Regions from separate parts of the Homo sapiens genome. Here region 2 is linked to region 1. The links are contacts of gene promoters, found by promoter capture Hi-C in human tissues and cell types (Jung and others, 2019). All regions are on one chromosome and are shown on one strand. The core of a region is centred on a gene start or on the middle of the fragment in contact, and the rest is flanking DNA. Distances in the headings are between cores, read along the strand shown.

The links. The method cuts DNA at HindIII sites, captures the fragments that hold promoters and counts their contacts. A contact is called where the count stands out against the background at its distance.
Region 2: a fragment that was not itself captured here is called in contact with the fragment with the promoter of OR2S2 in region 1 in 3 of the 25 tissues and cell types used here (aorta, lymphoblastoid cells and spleen).

Annotation. Positions count from the first base shown.
Region 1 is chr9:35,956,490-35,960,207 of GRCh38, forward strand. OR2S2 (olfactory receptor family 2 subfamily S member 2) reads right to left here and starts at 1,665. Exons shown (of 1, transcript NM_019897.2): 1 at 619-1,665. The coding sequence starts at 1,609. The coding sequence ends at 650. The HindIII fragment of the contact is 4,346 bases long and covers 1-3,718 here.
Region 2 is chr9:35,920,400-35,924,117 of GRCh38, forward strand. No RefSeq gene overlaps it. Among named protein-coding and RNA genes, the nearest start is that of SPAAR, 13 kb to the left of the region's middle. RefSeq lists an enhancer at 2,872-3,718. The HindIII fragment of the contact is 3,057 bases long and covers 204-3,260 here.

The DNA of each region.
Region 1 (3,718 bases), core at 415-2,914:
CTTTGCTGTTGTGAAATTCTGTAAGAACGTCAAATTTGAACTCATTACTCCTTGAATTTTATTTAATTTACTAGGTGGTGTTCAATGATCTGCAGTGCATCAGGAAAAAATAGCCTAAATTTTCTCATAGCTAAAAAGATATTCAGTCATCAAAATAGATTATTCACAACTAAAAGCTCCCTAAGTGAAGAACTTACCTTTTCTTAGCCATTCAGGCAAACTGAGTGTAATAAACTGAAGCCTCAGTAAAAGTTTCCACTCCCTCCTTATTTCTCTGATTTCCCTGGTGAATCCAGTAGGGCTGGTAAGTTGCTGTGAGAACATTCTCACGTCCCTGTTCTAACTCTAGAGCTGAGACACTCTAAGGGCCATGCGTCATGCTTTCATGGCTGCTGTCTCGTGTGGTTTTACCGTATGTTCAGAATGCCTTCATCACAGTTGATTATTTATTGAGTCTGGTGTCTGTTGAAGCTGTCAGACATAGGACTAAAACTCAGGAGATATCGTCTGAAAAGTTTAATATCTCCTGCAAATGGACTTAGAGTGAGAAACCATTATAGGTCACATGACTTGGCTTTTGAATGGCAGCTGATGTGATTGTGATTCCTTACTTCCATGTGGGTGACAATCACAGAGGACCCTTCCACCATCACTGAGTGAAGCCTTTTGGTCTCAGCAGTCTCCTCACAGCAGCCTTCACATCCTTGTTCCTCAGGCTATAGATGATGGGGTTGAGCATCGGGGTCACCACCCCATAGAAAAGGGGGATGAGTTTGTCTGAAAGATCCTCTTTGTCTGCTCCCATGGAGTCCTTAGACTTAGGCTTCCCATACATGAAGAATAAGGTCCCGTAGAAGACGATCACCACGGTGAGGTGGGCAGAGCAGGTGGAGAAGACCTTTTTCCTCCCCTCAGCTGAGGGGATCCTCAGGATGGTGGTGATGATGAAGACATAGGAGAAAGAGATGAACAGAACCGGGACTCCTAGGAAGATCACATTCGTCACCTCCATGCTGATCACATTGATGGAAATGTCAGCACAGGCCAACTTTAGAACAGCCAGAATCTCACAGGTGAAGTGGTTGATGACATTGTCTCCACAGAAGGGCAGCTGAATTGCCAAGGATGTGTGTACCACGGAAGCAGCACCACCAATAGCCCAGGAGCTGGCAGCCATGGGCATGTAGGCAGCCTTGCTCATGATCACGGAGTACCTAAGGGGGTTGCAGATGGCCACATAGCGATCAAATGCCATCATGCTCAGGAGCAAGCACTCTGTTCCTGCCATGGCAAAGGAGAGTGCCATCTGCACAGCACAGGCTGAGAAGGAGATGGTTTCCTGGGGAGTCAAAAAGCTGTCCAGGACCAGTGGGACTGAGGAGGTAGTGAAGCAGATGTCCAGGAAGGAGAGGTTCCCTAGGAAGAAGTACATGGGCGTGTGCAGGCGGGAGTCAAGGATGGTCACCAGGATGAGGACCCCATTGCCCAGCAGGATCACGAGGTACATCAGCAGGATGAGCACGAAGAATGTCTTTTCCAGCTCTGGGTGGGCAGAGAGCCTCAGGAGAACGAACCCCATCACAGGGGAGGTCTCATTGGCTTTTTCCATGTGATATCCCCTCTGCCATCAGCAAAGTACTGAGCAGCGCATCAGGCTTTTTGGGAAGAGTCCTAGGCATCTAATATGTGGTCAAGTTCCCATTGCATAATAGAAGAACATATCTGTGCAAGAGAAAAATGACGGAAAGAGACAGTAGGGGGTGTCTTAGAAGACAGAAGGTCAGAGCTGGACAGGTAGTGGGTGAGGGCCTCAAATGTCCGGTTGTGCATGAGGGATTTTTCTGAAGTTGCTGCACCCTCTCAGTGTCCACAAAGGTGATAGAGGCCTGGGGAGGAGAAGTGACCTGTCCAAATCTTCTGAGCAAGTTGGTGACAGAGACAAGACTTGAACCCAGCAGAGCATATCCCTGGCCCAAGGAGGGCTTTTCCTCTTCATTGTGATTAAGTGCTAGGAAATGCTATGAATTATTTCTCTTTAATGCAAATCCACAGCAATTTCATTTGATCTGGGCTTTCTTAGATTCTCAGAGAGGAAAATTCCCAAGAAGATGCAATTCTTGGACCTAGCAAGTGATTAAGTTTCTTTAAACTTTGATTACACGTGGGGAGGAAATTGCGCAAAATTGTTCAACCATATTCACACAGAAACAAGCCTAGTTAATATTCAGCCATAAAGAGCATTACTTCTTCAGTCTAGTGACACAGGCTTGAGCATTGACAGGAATAGATCTGCCTATTTGAAATATGGATTTATTGCAATATATGGGGAGGTCCTATAGCTGGGAAATTTATGAAGCCAACAAATGGATTTGTTGGAGTGACTGAACTCACACCATGAGACAACACTGTGTAGCTTACCAGTTAGTTAATGCAATATTAATAACCACACTCTAACTATAGTTATCGATAGTAGAGTATATGGCATTAACTTCTGATCCCATCTCATTAGGATGTCTGTGAAATTCCTAACCGTGAATGACTAAGAATGTTTTTTCTTTGTCCTTTTATGTTTGCATTTTATTCTTGCATTATCTTCTGACTCTCTGACTCCATTCTTGAGTTCTATGCAAGCAGCTGGCTTATAGGAAGACTTATATGCCTTTGTATAGAGGATATCTAGTCTCTTACTTGCAATTTCCCTGACTCTAAATTCAAAGTACTCATAGATAATATTTTGATAGCTCCTTCTTAATGACAGTGGCTCTATGAGTGTGTATAAGAGTGGGTGGATGATGGAAGATGAGTGGTTAATATTAATATTAGTGAGAATATTAGGGATTCTCACTAATATTAAGGAATATAAGCTGTGCCATATTTCTTGAAACAGCTCATGGAGAAGATATTATCATTCAGGTTTTACAGGTGAAGTAACTGGAGCTCAGAAGATAAATTTGCTCCTTGGGGTTGAATGGCAGAGCTGGAGTTGGATTCCAAGACCTAGTCCTGAGTTCTTTCACGAAACAGCTGCTTTTCTCTTTTGGTGCACAGCTTTGCAAAAGATTCTGTCCCTCCAATATTAGACAGATCTTATAGTCCTATTTATAATTTTCTCTGTGCTAATATTGCTATAGCATAATGATAAATTAAAAGGACAAAGTCAAACTTGTACACACTGTTATGATCTCAATTAGCTCTGTGTATTCTCTGGCCAGTCTCACTGTCTGTCCAACACTCTCTCTTCAGTCATGGGGGAGGGTTTATGTCAGATGTGTTGTCAGGCAGTGCACCTCCCACCCTAAATGGAACTCAGGGTTTCTCAAATTCTTTACGATTGACATTTTGTGCTGGATAACCCTTTGGTGTGAGGGCTGTCCTGTGCATTGTAGGATGTTTAGCAGAGTCTCTGACCTCCACCAATCAGTTGCCAATAGCACCTTCTACCCTGAGTTGTAACAATCAAAATGTTTCCAGACGCTGCCACATGCTTCCAGGGGAAAGGTGTGTGTGTTGGGGCGGGGGGGGGGGGGTTGGCGGGGGGGACGGTGCAAAATTATACCCAGAAGAGAACGATTGGTCTAACCCAGGAGAAGCTTCCCCCATTACACAACCATGGGTCTCAAGGTATTTCCTGTGCAATCCTATTCCCCTCTTCCCATCCCTTCATACAGCACAGAAGGGTGTTCCTGGTTGCTCAGTGCAAGCTGACCCCCTCTGAGTG
Region 2 (3,718 bases), core at 482-2,981, 36 kb before region 1:
TGGCTACTTACAGAATGGCTGCACTTTAAACCCAAGGTGTTCTTTGCACCCTGTAGCCCCAGCCCATAAAAGAGACAAACACTGGCAGAGAGATGGTCCCAGGAGAGCAGCCGGGAGGAGGCACTGGAGTTCAGGGCTCCAGTCCCAGCTCTGCTCATCTGGCTCCTATGACGAGGGTTGTATCCAGTGTGTGGACGTCCCCTCTCCTCAGGCTGGAAACCCTCTGAGGTCAGTGCAGAGCCTCGGAATAGCGACATTGACATCTGTCTGGCACATAATGGCCTTCAAGGTGTCCTAAGTTTACAAAGCTCTTTCCCAGGCATCTCTCAGTTGTCTCCCATAACAAGCCTTGGGGCCCAGTAAAGCAGGCTGTATTAACCGCAGTTTACGGATGAGGGAACCAAGACTTAGAGACACAAAAGTGACAGGCCCCACTCCAAGTCACTCAACAAATTGGTCACAAAGTTCAGCACAGGACCATATTATCCCCTCTCCTTCAGCCAGAGCCTCATTTTTGCCTCTTTTATATCTTCTGTTTCCCAGGTAGATTTTGCTTGATAAAAAGGGGTCTGCTGCTTTAAAAGGTTTGAAAGCTCCAGAATAATGTTTCCAAATTCCCCGCGAATACTTCTGTTCAGTATTCAGGAATGAGAAATTGAAATTTCTGGGAATTCATGAGCATTCCTGAAATTATACATTAAATTTTTTTTTTTTTGGAGACAGGATCTTACTCTGTCACCCAGGCTGGAGTACAGTGGTACGATCATAGCTCACTGCAGCCTCGAACTCCTGAGCTCAAGTGACCCTCCTTCCTCAGCCTCCCGAGTAGCTGAGACTATAGGTACATGCCTATAGAGTGTGCCCCTAACATCTTCATGTTAGCCATTAGGGTGCTCCTGGCTATTTTGTTTTCTTCTTTTCTAGAGACAGAGTCTTACTATGTGACCAGGCTGGTTTTGAACTCCTGGCCTCAAGCTATCTTCCTGCTTCAGCCTTTCAAAGTGTTGGGATGACAGGTGTGAGTCACTGCGCCTGGCTCATATTTTCTATAACATTATATTCACATACTTTTAAATAATAATGAATGACCAGAATAATAAACAGTTAATAATTGTCAGTGACAAATTGATGCTAAAAGTTCCAGACTTTTTCCTTAAGGTTTATTATTATTATGAACCAATATGTTGTGACAAGATTATTTCAATAACATAAAAATTATCTCCACCTGATATAGGCACTGGATATAGAAAACATTAAAAAGGAGGGAACATTATTGCAAAATAAATGCCAGATAAAAATCACTTAAAAATGGAAAAATAATAGCACAAACATTTAATTTTAAAAGTTATTTTTAAAATGAACTTTTAAAACACAAAGCTTTAATTGCTCTATCTGATAGTTTTGATCTTTGTTTTGTGACAAATATTCTAGATGTAGGAAACTTTTTTGTTTTTTCATTTTTCATTGATGTTGGTTGAGTGTGCCCCTAACATCTTCAGGTTAGCCATTAGGGTACATGTTGTTTTATAGAAGCTCATTTCCTTTTTAAATGATGCTTTATTTTTATTTTTACTTTTTGGTCTGCTTACTCTGGTCTTGATTTTGCCATTGAGATCAATATTGCTCTTGCTAATTCAGATTTTAGAGCAATTTCTGATTTCCTTCTGGAGTGTTCTATAACAGCAATCACGTCTTCTTTTTGCATCTCTTCTGTTAAAGTATTTACAAAGAACTGTAGCCTATAATGAATATTCAACACGTGGAAATGCCAGCAATCATTACTGGGAAGTGTTCAAATAACTAACATTCAGACTCACTAACAAGGTTCATAGAATCACTTGTTGGAATTGCCAGTTTCAAGACTTATTTTGCTTTCAAAATTTGTTATTTTTTTCCGACACTGCTCATAGGACTTGTATAAGTATCCTATGTGTACAAACTTACCAATATTTGTTTTATTTGCAAAAATGACTTACCATTAGAAGCAGACCAGGTCACAAACACACACTTATAACCAGTGTGTGCTGGTAAACTGACTCTCCTGGAGAAAAAAAAAAAAACCCTTATATGTAGGGTTTGCCAAATTCTGAGGGGAGGCATAAATGTTCCCACAATGGTCAATGCCCAGCTACCGAGGGGATGTCACTGAGAGCTGGGAAGAGCAGCATACAACTGGCTCTTCTTGAGCCAGCGCTAGCCCACCACCACCTCTACCCTGGCAACAGCAGTCGGAAGACTGATTAGATGATGGCCTTTTCTCTCCTCTACTCCCCAGTTCCATTCAGAACTTAACTTTCCTATGGGTGCCTCAGTATTTTCTACTCTCGCTTTTGATTTGGTGTCAGTGGATTCCTTTGAACTAGTCACATCTAGTTCAACATGTTGATTGCTAAGCTTTAATTCTCACACAAAAACACTCTTACCAGGTTCCTAGATGTCTTAACTTCTTTTTCTCAGGAATTGGCATTTGGAAAAACAGTATTTCCGAGAAATGCTGGGAAGGAATTCCTGCATAAAAACACAAATCTGGCCGGGCACGGTGGCTCGTGCCTGTATTCCCAGCACTTTGGGAGGCTGAGGCAGGTGGATCATGAGGTCAAGAGATCAAGACCATCCTGGCCAGCATGGTGAAACCCCATCTGTACTAAAAATATAAAAATTAGCTGGGCGTGGTGGTGCGCGCCTGTAGTCCCAGCTACTCGGGAGGCTGAGGCAGGAGAATCACTTGAACCCGGGAGATGGAGGTTGCAGTGAGCCGAGATTGTGCCACTGCACTCCAGCCTGGGCAACAGAGGGAGACTCCATCTCAAACAAAGCAAAACAAAACACAACACAAATCCAGGAAACCCAAGTAAAACCTATTTGCTTGACTGATCGTGATCCTACTGGATACATTCTCCTGGGTCCCAATTTTGGCCACCGCTCATTTTCATTGATCTCATTTTAAGGGGTTTGAGGTATGGAGTCCTTAGGATTTGGTGTTAAGTTTGGTGATTTTTCAGAGAGGCCGCACCAGAGCTGCATCGGTGATCATTTGACTTTATGTCTGACCCTGTGCACAGGGGTCTACTTGTCTCCTAACCTCAGTTTTCCTCTTTTTCCTTATTAGAAAAACAACAATAACATCAACACAGTCCCTCTTGGAACTAGGAATGGCCAGTAGAAGTGGTGTGTGACTTCTGGGAAATGTCCTTAAATAGAGGCGGAATACTCTTCTTTGTTTTTTCTCCTTTATCTGGCCAGAATGTAGATATAATGGCTGGAGCTACAGAAGTCAGATTGGACCAGAGTGGCCTTGGGAGTAGAAGCCCCATTTGGGGGAACAATAAGATAAAAGGGGCCTGGGTTCCTGATACTGTGGGAGCCCATATCAGTCCTATACTGCCTTCTTCCAGGCTTTTATACCAAAGCAAAACAGTCTTATTTAAACCACTATTGATATGTGGTTTTCTATCACTCATAACTGAAACAAATTAAACAGCACACCAGTGCATTGTATTCTGTTACATAGTTTATGGGAGGCCATTGTTTTGGACTAGCCTCCTACACTGGCCCTAGCAGAGCAGATCAAACCAGAGCAGAGTCACCTGTGCTAACTGCCAAGTCATCAAACCGGACTTTGAAATGAGGCAGTTTTCCAAAAACGCAGGAGCTTCCAGTCACCCTGAATCAGCACAATAAAAAGTGCCCTCTGCTTTAACCCTATAAGGAAAGCAAC